Regions from separate parts of the Homo sapiens genome. Here all the other regions are linked to region 2. Evidence: promoter capture Hi-C in human tissues and cell types (Jung and others, 2019). All regions are on one chromosome and are shown on one strand. Each heading gives the region's core, a stretch centred on a gene start or on the middle of the fragment in contact. The rest is flanking DNA. Distances are from core to core; before and after follow the strand shown.

Region 1 (3,995 bases), core at 13-2,512, 330 kb before region 2:
CTCCTGGTGTGTGAGAGATTACACAATGAGTGATCTTGGCCAGGGAGACCTAGCCAGCTCCAGGCTCCGCTGGGGAGACAAGATTTCAAAAGGCAGCCGCTCAATTAGGGAAACAGCCTTTCCTGGCCGTGCCTCTGAATTTCATTTCCAGCACAGGCTCCTCTGGTTAATGATAAGAAGCCCAAGATAAGAGCCTGATTGTTGCCTGAATGGCTTCCTTCCTGAGGGAGGGGAAAAAAGGAAAGAAAAAGATTAGCACAAGCATCAGACTCCTGATTTAGCTTTCCTTCTGAAATAATAAAATAAGTAAACAACAAAGAGCTTTTTACCATCAGAGGCTGTGTGGATTTCTCTTCTTGCACTGCCCCATTCAGGTTGTGTTTTATTTTCTAAGGTTGACCCTCTGCATTGTAGGGCATTGTATTCTCTTTCTATAGGAGGCACTTAATGGATTAAATTTGCAAAGAGTCAATGGCAATCAGCCATCCATCAGAGAGGTCTATTTACATGCAGTCACTCCTGTAGTTTTTGAAGAGCACAGAATTAAAAGAAAAAAATTGCTGGAAAATACAATTATGAGAATCTTTTGTCCCTCTTGGCACCACCTCTTTATAACCTTCTATCTGCTAAGGGGGAAGGGAAGGCGCTGTGTAATGATGTACGGACAGATGCTTGAAGGCTGGGCGTGGCTTCTGGGGTAAAAAAAGGAGAATCGGTATCAGTGCAGTGTATGAGCCTCCTGGTTCTTAGAGTTTTCTATTCAGCTGCCGGTGTTATCCTTGTGAGTGCATGGAAACCACCCCGAACAATCCAATTTAGAACAGCTTTTAAAATTCTTCACAAAAAGCAAGATGGCCTTAATTAAAATTTGAGATTCAAGCCTGTCAGCGTGGTCACACTTTCCGAGTGGTTCAGGGAATTTTACATCTCCTATTCCATGTAGGATTTGCACTGGTGAATCTTTCAATGAAATGACCATGTTATTATTTTTATGTTTGAAAATCTGCACATTGAAGATTCTGTTTTTCGATTTTAGTGTGCTTTGTGACCTTTACATTTAACACTGTTATTAGCAGGACATAACTTATTAATGGAGAAAGCTGGTGGCAAACCCCAGGTCAATGCCTTTTCTAGGTCACATTCCTTATGGGTACAGAAATACGATATCTGTCTGATTTGTGGAAATCACACAGCTGAGAGGGAATGCTGAATCAAGGTTCTTAAATCACTTTTTAGAGTAGAAAGATTTAAGTATTATAAAATATTAAATTAATAAAAATTCAGAAAGCTTTTCTAAAGTTGTATTGACAGCCCAAAGCAAAATGAAAATCTATTCAATTCAACAAATACTTATTGACTATGCTAGATACTTCTGTGAATATTAAGATAAATTTTACATGAACAAGTATCAGGTCTTCCATTTAGGTTCAATCAATTGCATAAACTTACAATGAAGCGGCTTTGTTGTCTGGGGCATATACCTTGGGCTTTGTCTTCGCGTGCCAGGAACATTTAGGACACGGACACACACAAGGAGTGGGTTTAGAAGCAGAAAGTTTAATAGACAAAGAAGAAGAGAGAGAGAGAAAGCTTCCTCATGCTGAGAAAGCGGGGTGCCCAAGAGAGGTCTCCAAGTGGAAGGGGCCTGCTGATGGCGAATATGCCGAGTTTCATAGTCCAGTTTGAGGAGGGGATGTCCGATTTTCATAGGACTCATAGATTAGTTTGATTAGGTATGATGTTTACATAGCACGTGGGGAAGGCTAGTTGTCCCACCCTAATCTTCCTATGCAAGTTGATCAGTGCCATCTTGTCTGCTCCTTACAGCACACCGGGCTGGGCAGAGAAGGGAAGATGGAGCCGCCATCTTGAAAATATCTGGTCCTGGCCTGGCGCGGTGGCTCACGCCTGTAATCCCAGCACTTTGGGAGGCCAAGGTGGGCGGATCATAAGGCCAGGAGATCCAGACCATCCTGGCTAACACGGTGAAATCTCGTCTCTACTAAAAATACAAAAAAAAAAAAAATTAGTTGGGCGTGGTGGCGGGCGCCTGTAGTCCCAGCTACTCAGGAGGCTGAGGCAGGAGAATGGCTTGAACCTAGGAAGCGGAGCTTGCAGTGAGCCGAGATCGCGCCACTGCATTCCAGCCTGGGTGACAGAGCGAGACTCCGTCTCCAAAAATAAAAAAAAGAAAATGTCTAGTCCTTAGTTCCTGCCAGCATTCGTCCATGCAAGCTCACAGCTTGCAGGCTGTTCTGTTAGAAATGATTTGGGGCTGCATTTCATTAAAAAGAAAAGCCTTACTGAGGACTCACATGCCCTTGCTATCTGCCGAAGTAATTCTTTCTTAACTCCTGTATCAACAATACATAGGATAGATCAATTAACAATACATGGATAGATTAAGAGTTCATGCAAACAAGGCTTTGAACCTATGGTGTGACTGGAAAACAACTCATGAAGCTTTGTGCTGCACCAATTGAAGTACAATATCTAGGTAAAGGATATTGCCTCAGAGTCTGCCCTCTGGCGGGTGCATGTCTGGAGTATTACATTCATTCTGGGCATCACAGTGCTGTATGCTATGTTTTGAAGTGGACGTTGACAAAGTAGAATCCACGCAACGGAAGGCACATGTGTGGTACATAATCTTGGAAAACATCGTATGAGGAATAGTTGAGGGAGTGGAGACTATTTAACCTTCAGAGAATCACATTTAGGGAAGTCCTAGCATCACAGAATTGAAGAGTGAGAATAACCTACTCTACATCTCTTACTTAACCTCTGTCTTTTACAGATGAGAAAACAGGCCCAGAAAAGGGCAATGCCATGCTGGTCTCCATCTACAGTCTTGCTTAAGCCTGGTGGTTTTATTCCTGTAGTACCAATATTCACTACACATCTCAGCTTATGCTTCTGGTCAGCTGTTGATTCCAGTTATCAGAAGGATGGACCTTCTCTGCCCTCAAAACGATCTGAGTGTTGGAAAGAAGAGCAGGCCAAGAGTCTAGTTCTTTTTCCTTTATCTATTGCCTGGCAAATTCCTGCTTATCCTTCAAGGCAACTCAAATGTCACCTCATCTCTGAGCCTCTGTAAAAAGTGAAGTAGAAGTTCCTCTTCAAAGAGACTTTCCTCCGCATCTAATTAAGAACAAATGTAACTTCTCTTAGAAGCAAAATTTATTCAAAGACCTGTGCTAACATTCTAAAATATCTGCTAGCCGTAATAAAGAAATCAATATACTTTGTGTTCTTAACTCCCACAAGTTTGCATAAATATTTGCCCTGGCATGCTTATACTGGTCCAAGCAAGCCTTAGGTCATAGCCTGTTCCTCTTCCTTATTTGGAGGTGTTTTTACTTTCTAACACCGCACAGTCCTCTTTGAAAATTAATTACACTCTCCCATCATTTCCCACAGCTTTCTGGAAACATCTCATTGTAGCATCTATCACTTGATATTGTAATTGTTTACTTATACATCCATCTTTCCACTAGATTTTGAGCACCTGATGAAGCATGATTAAAGACTAGTCCTGACTGATACTATGACTGGGCATCCACATATGACCTCTCCATTTGACTAGGGCTTCCTCACAGCATGGCTGCCTCAGCGTAGTCAGGATCTATGAACAAGTGTTTCTGTGCACAAGGCAGACACCGCATGGCCCCTTATGGCATTGCTTCGGAAGTCACATATTGTCATTCCTACCATGCTGCCAAGATTCAAGCAAAGGGGCCATAGAAACTACCTCTCTATGAAAGAATTGTCGAAGAATCTGCAGTCATGTTTTAAAACTGCCACCAGTTGACAGAAAACAAAGTAACAAATACATAAAATACTATATATAATATGTTTAGTGGTGATACACATTATAAAGAAGAATAAAGTAATACTGGAAATAGAAAGGACTGTGACTTGGGGAACTAGGGTTGTGATTCTAAATAGGGTAGTCAGAGAAGTCTTTATTGACAAGCTGGTGTTTGGGCAAAAGT
Region 2 (3,861 bases), core at 631-3,130:
TTATATGCCAAAATGTTAAGATTCTTGTATATATTGGGTTATTTACAATATTAAAATTAATTTCACCTGTGCTTTTTTCCTTTTTAATATGGCTATGAGAAAATTTACAATTACATATGTGGCTTACATTTTATTTCTCTTGGAGAGCGCTGGTTTGGACAGGAAGTATGAAGAATTTGGAGCAGGGAAACATTGCTGTGGGTTCAGGTCATCGGGAAGTCTTCACTGAGAACTATAGGATTTCACTAAGTAGGTAGGCTCAGGGAGGAATATCCAGTTGAAGAAAGCCTCGGTAGTGAAATATGAGGTTAATCTGGGCAGCTGAGGTGACTGCTTGGGTCACATCATGGGCTCTTATAGGGGAGAAAAGTTTCCTGGATAGGTTGGGACCAAACTGTACAGAACTTAAACTGCCAAGAATTTGGATTTTTTTCCTATAGGCAGTGACAGCTTCTCCAGAAGAAAATCAGACTTTGCTTAGTAGCTTATGGAATAGCCTGAAATTGGCACTTTCTTATGTAGGGTCAGAGCAGCATAAGCTCCTGGAAACTGCCTGCTCAACAAGCAGTGGGGACCAGGCCTACCTAACCAGGAAATTTACAGTGATATGGAAAGTGTGACTTTGGATTGATTGACCTATTTGGGGGTGGGTGGTAAGTTTAAGCACATGATAATGTCACCTGGGAGAGAAGAATCCAGAGGGTGTACCTGTGTGAAACCCGTCAGGGAAGAGGGAGGCAGGCCTTTCACCTTGGTATATTGCTCTAAGCATGTGTATAACCAAATTGAGTGACACTTTCTACCTTTCTTTCAGTCTGTCTGTCTGTCTTTATTTTTGTCTTTGTTTTACTATTTTTACTTTCTTAAACATTTTTATTGATTTTTTAATATACGGTGGGATTTTACTGTGTTGCCTGGGCTGGTCTCAAACTCCTGGGCTCAAGGAGTCCTTCCACTTCAGCCTCCCAAAGTGCTAGGATTACAGGTGTGAGCCACACGCCTGGACTTCTCTTTATTTTATTGAACCCCTACTGTGAATCAAGGGGTTAAGAGCTAACTACAAGGAGATGAAATGAAAAGACCACTGAAGTGGGAAGGGAAACACCTGGGCTATTATCGGGCTCCGTGGCTAACTTATTGAGTCCTCTTGGTCACCTCACTGGGTCTCTTCAGATATGAAAGAGGATTTAGCATTAGATGGGACCAAGACTTCCTCCAACTCTGTGATTCTAGAACAGGCTGATGTCACAAAGGGAGAAGAACGCACCGTAGCAACCAGGGGCAAGGCTACTCAAGGAGAGTAGGAGGAGGCTAGGTCAGGAAGGGCAAGCACTGGTGGCCTACCCAGGACTTGGCCCAACCCTCTGGGTCAGGTCACCCTCGTCGGAGTGAGCGGACCCCGCTGGAATTGGAGCCCAGTAAGGTCTATGAGTTTGGTGTTTTGATCCTGGCTACCCATCCCTTCCATCCCAGGGGTGGTTCACCAGGCTGAGTGGAGCCTTATACTAGGGAGAGAGGAAGCTGAAGAACTGGGCTCCAGGTAAGTAACTCTGCAGAGGATCTCAGATTGTCTAAGGAAACCACTGAAGAAAATGTATGCCCCGCCCCTCCCCTTTTTCCTGGCACTGCTGAGCCACCTGCAGTTGCGAGAGCCGCTGGGAGGGATAAGAGGGAAGAGGACGCCCGGTGAAGGGGCTCCAGCCTGGCAGTTTCTGCGTGTTAGCATTTCTAGAATAGAGTGGGTGGGAACTGACCCAAGTAAAGTCCCAGAGACTCGAACACTGACGCACAGGAAAGCCTCAAGTGGGAGGAGAAATGCAAATCCCCTACTGATGATGGCGTCAGCGGCTTTCTCCTAGGGACTGTGAGGGGCGCTTCTGACTTTGGACTTGAGCACTGCCTGGGACCTGTGCTGAGAGAGCGCTAGGTAAGTGGCCAGACCACACCTTCTGGCTGCCTCTTGTAAGGAGGACATGCTTATTATGCAGGATACTCTGAAGCTTTGCTTTCCCTTGGCGTTTTGACAATTGCTTCATTTTAACCTTCCTGAGGAGGCTTATTATAGAAGGAAGCGCCCGACTCCACGACCCACAGATGCGCCCTGGCACGGGTTCTCCGCGGAAACCGCTCCGCAGGCCCGCGCCACGGTGCCCGGGCGAATCTCCCTGCGGGGGCCAGGGGAGCTGCGGCGGCTGCGGAGGTGTGTCCTCGCGGAGGCTGAAAGTGAGCCCCTCTTCACTTTCTTAGCCAGCTTCTCTAGAGCTGTGATGTCTGACTTTAGATTAGCGTACCTGGATTTCAGAAAAAAGCTTGCAGCTACGGCAGCCGGTGACTGTGGCTTTGATGGGCGCGAGTGACATTTTAGGGCAGGTCATCTCCTTTTGCAAGCTACAGGCCACAGAGCCAAAGCGGCACCACCAGCTCACAGACGGTGGGACAAAATGCCCCTTTAGTGGGATCTTCTAGGAAATGCACGCAAAAAGGACAGACAGGCACTGAGTTTTCAGAAGCAACGTCACAGTTTTCATGAGAAAGAAGTAGCCCCTAGAGAGTGAAAGCAAAGAAACCTGCTGAAGGATGTCTAAAGGCGTTCCCAGAGGCTGCAATAGAAAATGTCCTAGGACTATGTATTCCTTCTTCTTCCTTTTTTCAGCTTTGAATTCAGCTCTCCGAAAGACTCAGATCTTAGTAGTGATTTTTTTCGGTGTTTATTTTTATTTTTTTTAATTTTCCTTTTATTTTCATTTGACACACAATTGTAAATATTTATGGAATATACAGTGATATTTCAATAAATATGAACAATGTGTTATGATCAAAGGATATTCAGCATATCCATCACCTCAAACATTTATCATTACTTTGTGTTGTGAACATTCAAAATCCTCTTAGCTTTTTGAAAATATACACTAAGTTATTGTTAACCATATTCATCCTAGTGTTACAGCACTAGAACTTATTCCTCCCATCTACCTGTAAGTTTTAGTTAGAAAATAGATTTTTCATCCAAATCATAGCGGGGGTTTAACAATAGTATGATGAAAAACTGTAATGCTATTTTCAACTCATGTTCTCTGTTGTCATTAACTAAAATAAATTGATAGATAGGACAATGTTGATAGTAGCATGAGAACAAATGTTCCAATTTTGTGTGGAATATATACACATCCGATGGAATATATATACATCCGATATCTGGAAAAACAAATGGTTCAGACTCAGGAAACCTCAGGTTGTCCCTTAGAAGCCTCACACATTAGGCAGGCGTCATTTCGCCTATTTGATCTTCAAGTTTTTCCTTTTTAAAGTTGACATACTACTTATATCCACCTACCATATTCATAGCAATGTCAGGAGTGCCACTCATTCTTCATTTAACAAGCATTGATTGAGCATTTACAATATGCCTAGAATTGTAAAGTGTAAAGGTTTTCATAAATATAAAATGATATGCAAATAAAACATTACTTCTTTTCCCACTTGCTTTCTCTTTAGCAAAACATTGGCAACACGTTTTTTTATAAATTTTAAGTCATTTACCAGGAGCTCAGGGAAAAGGTGCTCAAAATGATTCTACTTAAAACCCAAAGAATATGTATATGAAATATATGAAATTACCCTGGTGTTCTATAGGCAAAAGGAAACCTTAGCCTATCTATGAGATATGTTGAAATGTTATGGTGATTAATCATGTAAAAGGGGGTTTGGTGTTTTTACTTGACTTAGAATTGCTGAGAAAACAACCAAAAATTTGACTTTGGAAAACATAAAATGCTGTAATTTCAAGGAGGCAGCGTCATACTAATTTTCCTGAGTTAGGAAATATGTCTACAGCTTCTAAATTGGCCAGAGTGGGGTTAC
Region 3 (3,513 bases), core at 552-3,051, 270 kb before region 2:
TGCATGCCTGTAATTCCAGCTACTCGGGAAGCTGAGGCAGGGGAATCGTTTGCAGCTAGGAGGCAGAGGAGGCTGCATTGAGCCGGGATCACACCACCGGACTCTGACCTGGGTGACAGAGGGAGACTCTGCCTCAAAATAAATAAAAAAGACCACTTGTAAGTGTAATAAATGTATAGGAACTTCTTTCCCCAATAACCTTGGCCTACATTAACTGTTTCCATGTCTATAATTCCTGATTAATATTCACACTAGAGGCCAGGCACGGTGGATCATGACAGTAATCCCAGCACTTTGGGAAGCTGAGGTGGTCGGATCACCTGAGGTCAGGAGTTTGGAACCAGCCTGGCCAAGACGGTGAAACCTCGTCTTTACTAAAAATACAAAAATTAGCAGGGCGTGGTGGTGCATGCCTGTAACCTCAGCTACTCGGGGAACTGAGGCAGGAGAATCCCTTGAACCCAGGAGGCAGAGGTTGCAGTGAGCCGAGATCTCGCCACTGCACTCGAGCCTAGGCGACAGAGCAAGACTCTGTCTCAAAAAAAAAAAAAAAAAGATTCACACTAGAAATAACAATAGGCAAGATATATTGAGGATTTGCTACATACCACACTGTGCTTGGCCATTTACTATGTTATTAGATCAGGCTTTAAGACAATCCTAGGAGGTAAGCACTATTATTTATCTTCACCTCATAGAAAAGAGAAAATCCTCCTCCAACAAACAATAACATGGAATGTATTATTTCATGGCATTCATACCAGTTAGAATTTCAAGGTAAAAGGAACATGGATTAGTTGTTTGGATTTCAAATATTCAGAAAACCAATTGTATAACTTAAATGATATATGTGTATCTATTGTACACACGTGTATACCTATATGTATATACACACACATATATTTAAAATGTTTAATGAAACAAATTCACTTTAGTTTTTACTCTATTTGGGAACTTGATTTTAGAAATATAGTCATGCATCATCTAATAAAAGGGATACATTCTGAGAAATGCATCACTAGGTGATTTTGTCATTGTGCAAACATCATAGAGTGAGTGCATTTACCCAAACCTAGATGCTACAGCGTGTTATTGTACTGTAGGTAACTGTAACACAATGGTATTTGTATGTGTAAACTTAGTAAGAATAGAAAAGGTACAGTAAGAATAGCATAAAAGATAAAAAATAGTGTACTTGTCTAGCGCCCTTACCATGAATGGGGCTTGCAGGCCTGGAAGTAGCTCTGGGTGAGTCAGTGAGTGAGTTGTTAGTGAATGTGAAGGCCTAGGACATTACATTACGGTATACTTTATAGGTAATTTTTTCTTTCTTCAATAATAAATTAACCTTTGCTTACTGTAACTTTTTGCTTTATAAACTTTACAATTTTAAAAACATTTTTGACACTTTTGTTTTGTTTTTGAGGCAGGGTCTTGGTCTGTCTCCCAGGCTGGAGTTCACTGGAGCAATCATGGCTCAGGGCAGCCTTGACCTTCCCGGGCTCAGATGATTCTCCCACCTCAGCCTCCTGAGAAGCTGGGACTACAGGTGTGTGTCACCATGGCTGGCTAATTTTTTAATTTTTTTGTTGAGAAGGGGTTTCGTCATGTCGCCCAGGCTGGTATTGAACTCCTAAGCTCAAGCAATCCACCAGCCTTGGCCTCCCAAAGTGCCAAGATTACAGGCGTGAGCCACTGGGCCCGGCTGTTTTTTGGCTCTTTTGTAATAACACTTAGCTTAAAACACAATACTTTGTATAGCTGTACAAAAATATTTTCTTTATAACCTTATTCTATAAGCTTTTCTCTATTTTTAAAATTTTAATTTTTTTTATTTTTACTTTTTAAACTTTTTGTTAAAAACTAAGATACAAACATATTAGCCTAGGCCTACACAGGGTCAGGAGCATCAATTTCACTGTCTTCTATCTCCATGTCTTGTCCCACTGGAAAGTCTTCAGGGGTAATAATACACATGGGGCTGTCTTCTCCTAAGATAACAATGCCTTCTGAAATACCCCCTTAAGGACCTGCCCGAGGCTGTTTTACTATTAACTTTTTTAACATGTAGGCATACACGCTAAAATAAAGATAAAAAGTACAGTATAGGCCGGGCGTGGTGGCTCACGCCTATAATCCCAGCACTTTGGGAGGCTGAGGCGGGCAGATCACAAGGTCAGGAGATCGAGACCATCCTGGCTAACACGATGAAACCCCACCTCTACTAAAAGTACAAAAAATTAGCCGGGCGTGGTGGCGGGCAGCTGTAGTCCCAGCTACTCGGGAGGCTGAGGCAGGAGAATGGCATGAACCCAGGAGGCGGAGCTTGCAGTGAGCCGAGATCACGCCACTGCACTCCAGCCTGGGCAACAGTGCAAGACTGAGTCTCAAAAAAAAAAAAGTATAGTATAATAAATACATAAACCAGTAACAACATCATTTATTATCAAGAGTTACATATTGTACATAATTGTATGTGCTTTTACTTGTAGACAACTGGCAGTGAAGTAGGTTTGTTTACACCAGCAGCAGCACAAACATGTGAGTAGTGCCTTGCACTATAACATTACAACACCTGTGACATCAATAGACAGAAGAATTTTTCAGCTCCATTACAATCTTAGGGGACCACCGTCATCTGTGCAATCCATTGCTGACCAAAATGTCATTATGTGGTGCATAACTGCATTACACATCTTGCAGGTTATCCTTAAAATGCAATCTAGTTACACATTGAACAGCTTAGAAGTTTAAGGACTAGAAACTATAAGGCAGCTGAATCTCTGAATGAATTCAATTCTCACTTCTATATGTACAAGTTTAAATTCCACTGAACAGGCTGGGCGCGGTGGCTCACGCCTGTAATCCCAGCACTTTCAGAGGCCCAGGGGGGCGGATCACCTGAGGTCAGGAGTTCGAGACCAGCCTGACCAACATGGAGAAACCCCATCTCTACTAAAAATACAAAATTAGCCAGGCGTGGTGGTGCATGCCTGTAATCCCAGCTACTCAAGAGGCTGAGGCAGAATAATCCCTTGAACCCGGGAGGCGGAGGTTGCGGTGAGCCAAGATCGTGCCACTGCACTCCAGCCTTGGCAACAAGAGCGAAACTCTGCCTCAAAAAAAAAAAAAAAAAAAAAAAATCCACTAAAGAGTAAACAGGACTTTGACTCTCTTTCCATAAACTGACATCCACTTATCCATAATGATTACAGAATCTAGGTTTGTTAGAGTAACTACTTCTACTTCTGGGAAGGAAAAAGCAAGGAAGGGCTTAGTCACTAAACTGCATGTGGTTTTCAACACTGGTTCTATAGAGCTAGCGAAGCCACTTAGGGCTGACACATAAAGGAACAGGCGCCCCTGCCTATGACTTTGGACATTTTCGTTTAAATTCAAAATGCTCCCTAAGGAGATTTACGATCCTTACCTACAAACTTCCTCTGCAGGCTTCCTGTGCCACCTGGGGAAGGGACCCACGGGTGCTATGTAGAGTCCTATGAACTGTTTTAT
Region 4 (3,872 bases), core at 1,373-3,872, 420 kb before region 2:
AATAAATGTCTGTTGTTTTAGGCCCCATGTTTGGAGTAATTTGTTGTGACAGCACTAGGAAACTAACACAGTCACCAAATCCTCCTGAGACTACCTTTTTAGTATCGCTGAATCCATCCTTTTTTCCTCTCTTTCATGCCACTAATATGACTCAGATTATCATTACATTCCACACATATTTTAACTGATAGAAAAAGAAGTTGATAGGTAGAGCCAAGACAACCTTCGGATCTGAGTTTTATTAGGGCCTGGTCTTAATTACTCTATGCTTTGGATCTACTGTCTGCTCACACTGAGCACTTCTAGAAATGGGGAAATAATGACATATTTCATTATCATCATCAACTAGCTTCTGATCCACACCTGACAGTCAGTTATACCATGCAGCAGAAACATACATAGTTACATTTTCCACAGTTTGAAAAACTGCAGCTATTTCTCATCTACCCCTTGAAGAAGGAAAACAAGTTGCTTCATTTTTGCCGTGTATTTCTGATACTGCAGCAGCGTGCTGGAGAACACAGACCTCTCACGAATCTAAATATTTCTTCCTTCTCCTTGGACTAAGGAAAAGCTATGGCAGAAAAAGAACTCCATTGCTCTGTGGGATTAACCAGATTAAACCCTGAGCTGACTGATTGGAAGGAGACGTCAACAAAGGCTTTCGGGCAGAGACAGCAATAATTCCATCTGTAAGATTGATAAATAGTTGTTCAGTACCTAGAGGAATGTTTTTGAATTATTCTGAGCTTTAATGCCTACAAAAAAATAATTCTCTTTCCACTAAGGCAGGTGCCCATTGGCAGATGTTCCAGCAACTGTACCACTCTACAAAGTATAGAGATCCAGTCTCCTGGGGCTAATGAGGTTATTGATTCCTAAGAACTATCTGGCTTCAGGCAAACTACCTACTCCCAGAGACTGAAATCTATGCCAGTGTGAATATTGTAGTCTGTTTTCCCACTGGTGTACTGCAATTTCAATAGTCTTAACCTACAATGTAGGAATTTAACAAATACCATATCAATGGGTTGCTAATTATGGATTATAGGCAACGGTGCCAAGAATAAACTCCTTAAACCTTCCCCAAGCACTAGGATGCTTCAGAATTTCCCTTGATGGCTGTTTACACACTTTTAGAGTCTAACACTTTACCTCTTCCTCTCAATATGATTCATCTCCACCCTGACACTATAATAATAAGACTAAAAATATTACAGCATATCAAATTTGGAGAGAGGCAGTGAGAAAATCTGGAGAACTTTCCACTCAAAGTTTCTTCTGTTAATATCTATCACAGCTTCTCATTACCTGAGAACAGAAATCACAATGAATGTTTCTGCCTTTAAGAAGTGCAATAAATAAACTGTATTGTAAAAAAGACAGTTTTTTTGTGATTATATACAATTTGGGTGAGTATAGAAATAGGCCATTGAGGAGCATGTATATGTGCATAAACATAGAAATACATTTTGGCAAAATTAAGTTGCATTGTCACAGAAGTGTGACCATAAAGTAATAAGATTAGTTTCCTTGTCAAACTTGTGGAAATCATTTGTCATTCTGTATATGTATGTATTCTATAATTGTGTTTCAAATGTAGCAACCCTTAAGTACCTGGTCTCACAAATACATTGGAGTCTCTTCTCAATTCCACTTTCACCCAGTTAGATTTATGACTCTCATAAATGATCCAAAGATTCGGGCTCCATGATTACAATGGACACAAAGAGAAATTAGGTAGACATGAGGCATTAGGGCAAAACACATAGGCCCACCCTAATTGAGTAGGCAGCTACCACTCTCCATTCTAATAAGCCAGTTTCAGTTGTACTAGAAAAGTCCTCTTGTCAATAGGAGAAGTCCCAAATTTTCCATCATCTGCATGCCTGACACCCGCATGGCCGACATGCCTTTAACTACCATTTATGGACCAGGTACTTTATATACCTAATCTCTAGTCCCTATAGCCACTCACAAATGTGCATATTACTATCATCGTTACTATTTGACACATGAGAAAATAGACTCATAAAGGTTAAATGACTCGCCTAAGGGCCCACAAGTGATAAGTAGATGAACACAGATTAGAACTTCTAATTACCAATCTTCTGTCTTATTTCCAAGCCTTGTGACTCAAAGACAAAGCTTGTCATTGCCACAATTAATGTTCAAATGCAAACGTAGACAGCATAGGATAATAAGACTCTGTGTCACTCACACTAAGGATCCAATGAGGAGAGCAATGGAGCCCCCATACCTGGTAAGAGTGGGGAAAGAAAAGGTTTCAAAGAAGTGAGTCTGAGGGTCCTAGGGACACAGTGTGCCTTCTCACAATTCTACCCAGGGTGGGGCGACTGAATTCTCAAAGCCTTGTCTTATTTTATCTCATGAGGCAAAAGCTCACTTTCATTCTAGGGCTTCAAAGGTAGCCAGCACATTTGAATTACCCAATTTGTCATAAAAATATTGTTAGGAAAATGCCCAAACTATCAAAGATGAATTAAATTTTTCTGGCAGCTTGAGTTGGACTCATGTCTCTTCTTTCATTTGATATGTTACTGCTTGGTTTTTCATGATCTTGATATCCTTGCTTAGAAACAACATTCTCAGACACCAGGTATCAAGTAAGGGTTCAGGCCCCACTGCCTGAGTTCAAATTTTCAGAGTTTGGAGGAAGGCAGCCCAAGGGTCACTGGAATTATAATAACTTAAGGGAAAAAAAAAAAATATATATATATATATATACCAAGTTAGGCTTATGGCTTCCTCCCTAACTACCCAATGGAAAGAGATAGGGAGTAAGATAACTAGATGACATTTTTGGTCATTGTTGTTCCTAAAGGTCAACGTTTCTTCAGCTCTGGTTAAATTTTCAGCATTCTTACTTCTGCATGTTCTGTCCAGCCCCTCCTATTCCTATAATTTTGAGGAAGTCACTGAGGGAAAGTGCTGACTCATAAAATTAGTGACTGGAAGCCAGTAAGTGACAGCACTTACAGGCAAGTTTGTATTAAAAATGTAATGATGTCAAGAAATTTCTCCAGGGACTTTGGCTTTTTATTGAAGTAAACTCATTTTCCCAGGTCTCACTTTGTTGCTTTTCATATTTGCAACTTTAATGACCAGAAAAAAAACCCCACAAAAAACCCAAAACGAAACAAAACAAAACAAAAACAAGCAGAGGAAGAAAGAAGGGAGGAGAGAGGGGGTGGGGAGAGAGAGTAAGAGAAAGAAATACGTGCATTAAAGAAAGGATTTGTTATCAGTACCCTCTTCTGGAAACACAAGAATGTAGCCTGGAATCGAGCTGTGGCATTTCTTTGATGAGAAAACAAAGAGATTTACGCTAGCAGACAGCGTCAGGCTTCCATGTGTCTGATGTTATTTGGGGTTGACATAATGTAGTAGAAAGAGCCCTAAACTTAGAAATCAAAAATTGTGGATTTAAATCCAGCCTTTGCTCCTAACCTTCTACGACCTCAATATTTAAATAATTCGGTGTTTTAAGTATAGTAGACCATATATCTGGATTAGAATCACCAGAGGCTGTTGCTAAAACTGCAGAATCCCAGGATTCACTCCACCATCAGAATCAAACGGCAGGAATAGGTATGAATCTCAATTTTAAACAATTTCCAGGGAAATTCTTAAGTAGTGTTCTGGCTTCAGTTACCTAATCTGTAGGTAGATAACTACAGATAACTGATGATTTTCTTAGATTAAGTGACCTATAATGCCCCTTACACATCTAACGCTTCGTGATCTTATAAAACAAAACAGAAGGAATGATTCCTCAATGGATTAACAAACTGTGATGGATCCATACAGTGGATTAATCCTCAGGAGTAAAAAGGAATGAATTATTGATA

Evidence for each region. Contacts are between HindIII fragments. The study calls those that stand out against the background at their distance.
Region 1: a fragment that was not itself captured here is called in contact with the fragment with the promoter of STAT4 in region 2 in 1 of the 25 tissues and cell types used here (IMR-90 fibroblasts).
Region 3: a contact is called between a fragment that was not itself captured here and the fragment with the promoter of STAT4 in region 2, in 1 of the 25 tissues and cell types used here (IMR-90 fibroblasts).
Region 4: a fragment that was not itself captured here is called in contact with the fragment with the promoter of STAT4 in region 2 in 2 of the 25 tissues and cell types used here (lymphoblastoid cells and spleen).

What each region holds. Positions count from the first base shown.
Region 1 is chr2:191,475,641-191,479,635 of GRCh38, reverse strand. No RefSeq gene overlaps it. Among named protein-coding and RNA genes, the nearest start is that of NABP1, 200 kb to the left of the region's middle. RefSeq lists an enhancer at 1-694. The HindIII fragment of the contact is 4,499 bases long and covers 1-3,511 here.
Region 2 is chr2:191,149,013-191,152,873 of GRCh38, reverse strand. STAT4 (signal transducer and activator of transcription 4) reads left to right here and starts at 1,880. Exons shown (of 24, transcript NM_003151.4): 1 at 1,880-1,927. RefSeq lists enhancers at 1,461-1,540, 1,671-1,720 and a silencer at 2,191-2,240. The HindIII fragment of the contact is 8,161 bases long and covers 1-2,155 here.
Region 3 is chr2:191,418,113-191,421,625 of GRCh38, reverse strand. All of the region lies in intron 30 of MYO1B (myosin IB), which reads right to left. Among named protein-coding and RNA genes, the nearest start is that of MYO1B-AS1, 170 kb to the right of the region's middle. The HindIII fragment of the contact is 6,261 bases long and covers 1-3,513 here.
Region 4 is chr2:191,570,691-191,574,562 of GRCh38, reverse strand. No RefSeq gene overlaps it. Among named protein-coding and RNA genes, the nearest start is that of NABP1, 110 kb to the left of the region's middle. The HindIII fragment of the contact is 6,727 bases long and covers 1-3,872 here.